Regions from separate parts of the Homo sapiens genome. Here region 1 is linked to region 2. Evidence: promoter capture Hi-C in human tissues and cell types (Jung and others, 2019). All regions are on one chromosome and are shown on one strand. The core of a region is centred on a gene start or on the middle of the fragment in contact, and the rest is flanking DNA. Distances in the headings are between cores, read along the strand shown.

Region 1 (5,212 bases), core at 1,766-4,265, 560 kb before region 2:
CTCCTGCCTCAGCCTCCCGAGTAGCTGGGATTACGGGTGCTCGCCACCACCCCTGGCTAATTTTTGTATTTTTAGTAGAGACAGGGTTTTACCATGTTGGCCAGGCTGGTCTCGAACTCCTGATCTCAGGTGATTCACCCGACTAGGCCTCCCAAAGTGCTGGCATTACAGGTGTGAGCTACCCTGCCTGGCTGGGTTTCAGTTTTGTTGTGAACAAAGGTATAGTTAAGATTTGGTGGAGCCCACTACCACTGTCTGGGAGGCCAAGGAAGAAGGTGCTACAGACATGGTTGGGTTAACCTACATAATCATTTCCCCTCAGCTCTTTGCCTTTATTTCCTTCCTTTATTTCCTATATTTCCTTCCCCTAGTGACTCTACCTTTTCTTCTGCCTGGCATTGTCATGTCCTTCCTTTCTATTTGAATATTTTTTTCTTTCTTCCAGCCTTCCTTTCTCCACTGGTAATAAATACATATGGGGCTTCCTATACTTAAGCAAACAGCCTGGCACAGTGGCTCACGCCTGTAATCCCAGCACCTTGGATGGCCGAGGTGGGTGGATCAACTGAGGTCAGGAGTTGGAGACCAGCCTGGCCAACATGACGAAACCCTGACTCTGCTAAAAATACAATAATCAGCTGGGTGTGGTGGCATGCACCTCTAATCCCAGCTACTCAGGAGGCTGAGGCAGGAGAATCACTTGAACCCGGGAGGCGGGGGTTGCAGTGAGCCGAGATCACGCCACTGCACTCCAGCCTGGGTGAGGAAGACTGTGGTTCAAAAAAAAAAAAGCAGCAAACAACTAATGATTAGAGACATGCAAATCAAAACCAAAATGAGATACCACTTCACACTCATTAGGATGGCTACTATATTTTAAAAACCAAAAAAACAAGAAACGTGTCAGTGGGCTTGGAAAGAAGGTGTGAAAAGATCAAAGATCAAAAACAGCAAGAGAATGCAACAGGATTTAAAATCAGTAAGAGAAGATTTTAAGGAGAGGAGCCAAGGACAGTCAAGCATTTCCATCCTAGAAGGATGTGGCCATTTACAGAAATAGGGAGACAGGAGGAATTAGTAGGAGGAAAAATGACACATTTAGTTTTAGACATTTAGTTTTCTTTATTGCTCAAGGATATTTCCTAAAAAACAACAACAAAAAGACATTTCGATTTTTTCTTTTTCTGAGACGGAGTCTGGCTCTGTGGCCCAGGCTGGAGTGCAGTGGTGCGATCTCGGCTCACTGCAAGCTCCGTCTCCCGGGTTCACGCCATTCTCCTGCCTCAGTCTCCTGAGTAGCTGGGACTACAGGCGCCCGCCAGCACGCCCGGCCAATTTTTTTGTATTTTTAGTAGAGACGGGGTTTCACCGTGTTAGCCAGGATGGTCTCGATCTCCTGACCTTGTGATCCGCCCGCCTCGGCCTCCCAAAGTGCTGGGATTACAGGCGTGAACCACCGCGCCCGGCCGATAACTTATATTTGAAACTAGAAAAGAGGTAGAGGCAGGATGGGCCATGGAGAGACAGCCCGCATTAAAGGTTGTGGGAAGAGAATAGAAGAGTCAGTGATGGGGGCAGAAAGGTAAGGTTTGAGGGGGCAAGTGTAGAGTCTAGAGAAGCCAAGCCGAATTTGAGGAAGAGGAGGCGGCGCGGAAACTAGTGAAGGAGAAAACATGGAAAGGGCTAGTGTATTTAGTGAGCTCCTTCGGAACCTTAGAGAACAAAGGTGTTACGGAACTATATGCTCTCAAATTCACACTAAGCACTAAATTCCCGCCGCTATGGTACATTCTGGGGAAAGGAAAAACAGCGCAGTCTGGACCCAAGAAAGCTCACAGCGTGGCAAAGGAAGTGAGAAGTGAGTGAAAGATACAATGTTGATTCTGTCTTCCCTGGCAGTAAGAAAAAAAAACAAAAACAAACAATGTTTAAGTGCTTTGGCCGGGCATGGTGGCTCACGCCTGTAATACCAGCACTTTGGGAGGCCGAGGTGGGTGGATCATGAGGTCAGGATTTCGAGACCAGCCTGGCCAACATGGCGAAACCCCATCTCTACTAAAAATACAAAAATTATCCGGGTGTGGTGGCACACACCTGTAATCCCAGCTACTTGGGAGGCTGAGGCAGGAGAATTGCTCCAACCCAGGAGTCGGAGGTTGCAGATCGCGCCACTGCACTACAGCCTGGGCAACAGAGTGAGACTCCGTCTCAAAAAAAAAAAGTGCTTTAAGAGAGGTGTGCACAAGGTACAAACAGATGCCCTGAGCAACTGGCGACCGTGTGGGGCGAGACTCGGGAAGGGCTGGTAGGAGGGGCTGCTGTCCAGGTGCGTGGTGGTCCTCAAGAATTCATGGGGGCAATTCCAGCAGAATCGGCCTTTTGAGGCCTCAGGCAGTTCTTGTGGGGACCGAGGCGACAGATAAGGAAGGAAGGGATACAGGCGCGTTAGCAATAACTGGGTTCTATTTGAAAGACGCAGGGGGCCGGGCTTGGTGGCTCGCGCCTGTAATCTCAGCACTTTGGGAGGCCGAGGCGGGTGGATCACGAGGTCAGGAGATCGAGATCATCCCGGCTAACATGGTGAAACCCCGTCTCTACTAAAAATACAAAAATTAGTCGGGCATGATGGCGCGCACCTGTAATCCCAGCTACTCGGGAGGCTGAGGCAGGAGAATCGCTTGAATCTGGGAGGCAGAGGTTGTAGTGAGCCGAGATCGCGCCACTGCACTCCAGCCTGGGCGACAGAGCGAGAATCCGTCTCAAAAAAAAAAAAAAAAAAAAAGACGCAGGGATGGAGTTTGCCGCCTGAAAGGATACAGGAAGGAGAGGCGAAAAACTTATCTGAATTCTCACTGCTTCCTTACAACTGGCGACCAAGTGGACCAAAAACCTCCAAAAACCTCAGTTGGCTGGGCTACGGGGTCCTTGCTGTCCTTCCTGGGCTTCTGTACTCGGCCGGAACTTTGGTGTTCTGACGCCTTGTTTGGCATCGGAAGGGAAAAGCAGATGGACCTATACGGGTAAAGTGGCTTCTGGGCGGAAGGTACACTATAGGCTCGGGGAGGTAAGCGGCGGCAGGCCGGCGGTTGGTGTGTCCCGGGTGTGGGGAGGCGACAGAGCCCTGGCACTTGAGGGTTGAGGGGGCCTCCCCAGCGCGGCGAACCGTCTAGCCTCCGGAGGCCAGGCCGTGAGTGCGGGAGGTATACGCCAAGGCGGAAGAATTTTGCCACTCACTACCTGTGTGACCTCGGGTAAATTAGCCTTGGAACGTCAGTTTCTTCGTCTCTATAATTGAAATAATAATAGTACCTCTCTCAGGATTGTTGTGAGCCGTCAGTGAAACACTTAGAGCAGTTTCTGGCACATGGTAAGGCATGGATAGCTTTACTAATTCTACTCACTTCTAGCTGCGTGGATTGTGTTGTCAAAACCCACCGTCAACCTCAGGGCGGTATTGTCCAGTTAATAGTTTAGATTTTCTGTTTACTGGTAGAAAAAAAAAAATGAAACAAAGCATTTATAATTAAAGTTATATTATTAGAGAAGTAACACTACGGAGGGTTTGGAAAACATTTTATGAGCTATCATTTGTTTCTCAAATTTCGGTATGTGTAGAGGTAAAATCATTTAAGTGCAACCGGCGCGGGGGAATTTAAATATTATCCATAATTCCGGGACCTCAGATCAACTGTTAATTTTTCCTGGTTCCCTTAACGTTTATAATACATGTGAAAACATACTGTTTACATGGTTTTGATTTATCAACAAACCTTATTGATAATGTCGGCTGGGCGCGGTGGCTCACGCCTGTAATCCCAGCACTTTGGGAGGCCGAGGCGGGCGGATCACTTGAGGTCAGGAGTTCGAGACCAGCCTGGCCAACATGGTGAAACCCTGTCTCTACTAAAAATACAAAAATTAGCTGGGCGTGGTGGCGCACGCCTGTAATCCCAGTGACTGAGGCAAGAGAATTGCTTGAAACCAGGAGGTGGAGGTTACAATGAGCCGAGATCGCACAACTGCACTCCAACTTGGGGGACAGAGCTGGACTCTGTCTTAAAAAAAAAAAAAAAAAAGTTGGGCATGGTGGCGGGCACCTGTAATTTCAGCCACTCGGGAGGCAGAGGCAGGAGAAGCACTTGAACCCGGGAGGCGGAGGTTGCAGTGAGCCAGGGTCGTGCCATTGCACTCCAGCCTGGGTGACAGAGCGAGACTCCATCTCAAAAAAAAAAAAAAAAAAAAAGGTTGGGCGCCGTGGCTGACGCCTGTAATCCCAGTACTTTAGGAGGCCCATGTAGGCGGATCACCTGAGGTCAGGAGTTCGAGACCACTCTGGCCAACATAGTGGAACCTCATCTCTACTGAAAAAACAAAAACAAAAACAAAAATTAGCCGGGCATGGTGGCGCCCGCCTGTAATCCCAGCTATTCAGGAGGCTGAGACAAGAGAATCGCTTGAACCCAGGAGGCGGAGATTGCAGTGAGCGGAGATCTCTAGCCTGGTGACAGAGCAAGACTCCGTCTCAAAAAAAAAAAAAAGTATTGATAATGTCATTTTACCTATTGGTGTCTGTATCCTACAGAAAGGAAATACGTATCTGACTTGTTTCATAGGATTTGTGTGTGGATGGCATGAGATAATATATATCAGGGTGATATGAAAGTGTTAGGAGTAGGCTGGGCATGGTGGCTCACACCTGTAATCACAGTACTTTGGGAGAACAAGGCAGGTGGATCACGTGGTCAGGAGATCGAGACCATCCTGGCTAACACGGTGAAACCCTGTCTCTATTAAAAATCCAAAAAAAAAAAAAAAAAAAAAATAGCTGGGCATGGTGGCGGGCGCCTGTAGTCCCAGCTACTCGCGAGGCTGAGGCAGGAGAATGGCGTGAACCCGGGAGGCGGAGCTTGCAGTGAGCCGAGATCGTGCCACTGCACTCCAGCCTGGGTGACAGAGTGAGACTCTGTCTCAAAAAAGAAAAAAAAAAGTATTAGGAGTGGTATTCATCAGGTGCAGTGGCTCACGCCTGTAATCCCAGGTACTCCAGAGGCTGAGGCAGGAGGATCACTTGAACCCAGGAGTTAGAGACTCGTCTGAGCAACATAACAAGACCTCATCTCTATTTTTTTTTTTTTTTTTTTGAGATGGAATTTTGCTCTTGTTGCCCAGGCTGGAGTGCAATGGCGTGATCTTGGCTCACCACAACCTCCAC
Region 2 (4,653 bases), core at 33-2,532:
AAAAAAAAAAATTAGCCGGGTCTGGTAGCGGGTGCCTGTAGTTCCAGCTACTCCGGAGGCTGAGACAGAAGAATCACTTGAACGTGGAAGACGGAGGTTGCAGTGAGCAACCAGAGATTGCGCCATTGCACTCCAGCCTGGGCGACAAGAGCGAGACTCCGTCGCAAAAAAAAAGAAAGAAAAAGAAAAAAAAAAGTGAACTCTCCTTAACTCCTCTCTGATGTTCGTCTCCCCTAGGACCCCATAACCAGTCCCTTTTTTGAGTCTCTCCAAACCCATCCATCTTGGCACCCTCCTCACCTCCAAAGCCCTGGGTCCGCAGCTGGCGGTAGGAGCGGTACACTTCCCTCGTGAGGTAGTTGATGAAGCCCTCCCTGGGCGCGAACTTGCACACGAAGTTCTGCTCGTAGAGGCAGTTGATGAGGAAGCAGGCGGCGATGGCGTCCTCCCCGCGGTCGGGCTGCAGCTCCACTAGCGCCAAGTTGCAGTTCTGGGTGGTGCAGCAGGCGCGCACGCAGTCCCAGCCCCGGCGCACGGTGGGGGACTCCAGGAAGGTAGCTCCGTTGCTGACCGAGGCGTTGGTGTCCAGCACGAAGCCAGGCACCCCGGCGGTAAAGCTGTTCAGGCAGTCGGCTCCCGCGGGCAGCCCAGGGGGCGCGGGCGGTGGCCCGGCCTGGGTGCCCTGGAGGCCGAGCGTGCACAGAAGCCACAAGGCGACGGCAGGGATGCCGGCCGGGGCGAGGCGGGCGCGGGCCATCGTCCTCGCAGGGGCCATCGCCTTCCTCCCCAGGGGGGTCACCTTCAGAGCGCGGGCCTCTGGGTTCCGAGGGTGCTGGTGACCTGAGAAGAAGGGAGGGGACAGAGGAGGAGACACACCTGATCAGCCCGGGAGACTTTGGAGGAGGCGGGCCGGCCGGGAGGAAGTGGCGGGGAGGAGGGACCGGAGCACCCCAGGATCGAAGAGGGCGCACGGGCCCGGCCCTCCCACGCGCCCTCCAGGGACCCGGCAGCCAGACAGACGGACAGGCGGACCGCTAGGGAGCTCAAGTACCCGGACACACGCACGAGCGCAGAACAAAGGGCCGGACATGCTCCAGCCCGCTCCGCCTGCGCCTCGGCCTTGCGCGCGGGGGCCCGGGTTACCTGCGCAGGTGAGTTGGGTGGGGCCGGGTCCGCCGAGGTTCCGGTCCCAGCTTCCTGCGCGGCTCGGGTCGCGGCTTCCGACCCGGTGCTCGGAGAGCTGGGGCTCGGCCGCCTTCTCCCCCTGGTTTCTGGTGAAACTGAGTCAGCGCCGTCGGGGCGGGGCCGACATTCACCCTTGCGCTGCCGGCCCCGCCCACGCCCGGTGCGCTGCGGCCGCCTCTAGCGCGGAGCTCCAGGCCCGGCCCGCCCCGCGGCCCCGCAGCCCCGGTGCCTCCCCGGCAGCCAGCTCCCCGGAGGGGCTCTCGGGCTCCACCCAGTCCAGCCTCGCGAGGGAGCCCCGCGCCCGAAGCGCATACCCAGCCGGGAGGGGATGCGGCCGGGACGCGAGGGTCCGGCCTCTGGGGCGGCGGCCTCCAGTCTTCCTTTCCGGCCGGGGCCTGCTTTCCCAGCCCCAGACCTGAGGCCCGATGCAAATGATCTTTCCGGCCCTCAGGAAATCATTTCCATTTCGTGGCGGGAAGGTAACCCAAAAGTTGCGTGGCTGCACCTGTGATAACAGGGATCCGGGATGTCTGCCTCACTGTCAGCTCCGGGAAGCCCTCCCTGCTGTCAGGGTGAGAAACGGAGGCGATTCCCCGCGTCCAGGCTCCCCTGCGTGCTCCACGGGGCTTCCCTGTTGTTCGAGGCCCCTCCTCATCTTGTATGTACAGTTCGGTCCATTCCCTGCTATGGCTCATTGGACTGTTGCCCCCTTCCCTGGAGCCCAGGCTTCCTCTCTTTCACAAAGGGGACGCTGCTGGCTACTTTCTTCCAGGGAAATGTCATCCTTGGAAGCCTGGAGGTTCCAGTTCACCAAGTAGCTGAGTTAATGCCCTTCACGAAACAGTGGACTCCTTGAAGCCAAGCTCATTGCTCCTCCTGAGTAAAAAACTCTTAAGAGACCATTCTCTACGGCAAGGGTCTGAACAGGTGAAAGACAGATGAAGGCAGGGCTGGAGGAAGGAATCACATAGCATGCTCTCTTAAAATACAGATTCCAAACCTTTTCCTGATGGCTTAACAACCCCCAAACCAATGGGAACATTCTTCCCAGTTTCTCATCCAGAGCAGCTTTGCCTAGCAGATCCTGTGGCCAACCCTTGGATTTTGCTGAACTGCAACATCCTCCAGCTGCTCACATGATGCGTGTTGGGGTGGGAATCTGGGGCCTGTCTCCCCTTCTCTGGATGTTTAGGGTTTATCCACAGACCCTGGCACACTGGTGGATATACAACAATGGTGGTATGCTGGGAATGAAGAAAATGATTGTGCAGTCACTGGGAAGAAAGGGTTTTGTTGTGATTTGATTTCCCCTTATGGCTAACACATTCAAGAATCTTTATTTATTTATTTATTTATTTTTTTTTTTTTTTTTTTGAGACGGAGTCTTGCTCTGTCACCCAGGCTGGAGTGCAATGGCACGATCTCGGCTCACTGCAACCTCTGCCTTCCAGATTCAGGAAATTCTGCCTCAGCCTCCCAAGTAGCTGGGCTTACAGGTGGGCACCACCACGCCGAGCTAATTTTTGTATTTTTAGTAGAAACGAGGTTTCACCTTTTTGGCCAGGCTGGTCTTGAACTCCTGACCTCAGGTGATCCACCCACCTCGGCCTCCCAAAGTGCTAGGATTATAGGCGTGAGCCACTGTGCCTGACCTCAAGAATCTTAATACAGGAAAATATTACCTTATGGTAATATTACATCACCATAAATTTATCATTACATCCATTATACACACCATTATAAAAACCAACATGAATTCAGCACTGACAATGCCCAAACTCTGTTCCTAAGCACTGCCCACATATTACCCTATACTCAAAACAAACCTAGGGAGGTAGTATTTTTAGCCCCATTTTACAAATGAGCAAACAGGCTCAGACAGGTAAACTGACTTGTCAGGTCATTCAGCATTGAAGCGGCAGAGTAGGGATTGGAGCCCAGGCAGGCCAATTCCATGGCTTCAGTGCTTAAACCCTGGGCTTTATGGCCTTTGCAATTCTGACTTCATCTGGAAGTTCTGCCCTCACCTCAGATTCAACTTGCTTAAACCCATAACTCACTTTCAAGTGGTGAGCACCCACCATTTGTTGAGATGCCCACTGTGTTCCCTCCAGGCACTTGACATAGGATTGCTAATGCTCAGGACAACTCTAAAAATTGCTTCCACTTTGCAGAAAGGTTCACTGACTCCATCAAGGTCAGGTAGTGAACGAAGAGTGGTGACAGGTTGTAGAGAAGTTGAACTTGTGAGCTTCAGACTCAGACTACTGGATTTAGCTCTTGCATCTGCCACTTACTATTCGTGTGGCCTTGTGCAAGTTATTTGATCTCTCTGCCTTAGTCTCCTTGAATGGGAAGTGGGGCTTCATAAGGTTTTTTATGAGGATTAATTGAGTTAATGCAGACAAAGCATTTGACACAAAGAGTTCTCAATAAATGTTACTTGAAACGACAACAACAACAACAACAAAAACACATGGTGGTGAGGATGCAGAGAAAAGGGAACGCTTATACATTGTTGGTGGGAATGTAAATCAGTTCAGCCACTGTGGAAAGCAGCTTGGAGATTTCTCAAAAACTTAGAACTACCATTCAACTCAGCAATCCTATTACTGGGTATATACCCAAAGGAAAATATATTGTTTTTCCAAAAAGACACATGCACTTGTACGTTCATCACAGCACTATTCACAATAGCAAAGACATGGAATCAACCTAGATGCCCATCAATGATGGATTGCATAAAGATAATGTACTTCATACGTACCATGGAATACTATGCAGCCATAAAATTAACAAAATCATGTCCTTTCCAGCAATACGAATGCAGCTGGAGGCCATTATCCTAAGCAAATTAAGGCAGGAACAGAAAACCAAATACCACATATTCTCACTTATAAATGGGAGCTAAGCATTGAGTACACATGGACATAATGATGGAACAATAGACACTGAGGACTACCAGAAGAGAGAAGGAGGGAGGGGAGCGTGGGGAGCGTGGGCTGAAAAACAACCTTTTAGGTAATATGCTCACTACCTGGGTGACAGGCTCATCTGTACCCCAAACCCTATACCCATGTAACAAACCTGCATGTGTACCCACTGAATCTAAAATAAAAGTTGAGGCCAGGTGCAATGGCTCATGTCTGTAATCCAAGCACTATGGGAGGCTGAGGCAGGAGGATTGCTTGAGCCCAGGAGTTCAAGACCAGCCTGGGCAACATGGCAAGACCCCGTCTCTATAAAAAAAAATACAAAAAATTAGCCAGGCATAGTGGCGCATGCCTGTAGTACCAGCTACTCAGGAGGTTGAGGTGGGGGGATTGCTTGAGCCAGGGAGGTCAAGGTGGCAGTGAGCTATGATCATGCCACTGCACTCCAGCATGGGTGAAAGAACTAGACCCTGTCTCAAAAATAAGTAAACAAAATAAAAGTCGAAATGATTCTTTTAAAAAAGTGACAGAGCCA

What was found. The method cuts DNA at HindIII sites, captures the fragments that hold promoters and counts their contacts. A contact is called where the count stands out against the background at its distance.
Region 1: the fragment with the promoter of NDUFAF1 here is called in contact with the fragment with the promoter of SPINT1 in region 2 in 1 of the 25 tissues and cell types used here (lymphoblastoid cells).

Annotation. Positions count from the first base shown.
Region 1 is chr15:41,400,299-41,405,510 of GRCh38, reverse strand. NDUFAF1 (NADH:ubiquinone oxidoreductase complex assembly factor 1) reads left to right here and starts at 3,015. Exons shown (of 5, transcript NM_016013.4): 1 at 3,015-3,367. The HindIII fragment of the contact is 27,298 bases long and covers 1-5,212 here.
Region 2 is chr15:40,840,677-40,845,329 of GRCh38, reverse strand. It overlaps SPINT1 (serine peptidase inhibitor, Kunitz type 1), which reads right to left and starts at 1,282. Exons shown (of 11, transcript NM_003710.4): 1 at 1,144-1,282; 2 at 301-840. The coding sequence starts at 775. It overlaps SPINT1-AS1 (SPINT1 antisense RNA 1), which reads left to right and starts at 806. Exons shown (of 2, transcript NR_146468.1): 1 at 806-1,151. RefSeq lists silencers at 601-840, 1,131-1,190, 1,271-1,500, 1,662-1,844 and an enhancer at 1,138-1,709. The HindIII fragment of the contact is 27,771 bases long and covers 1-4,653 here.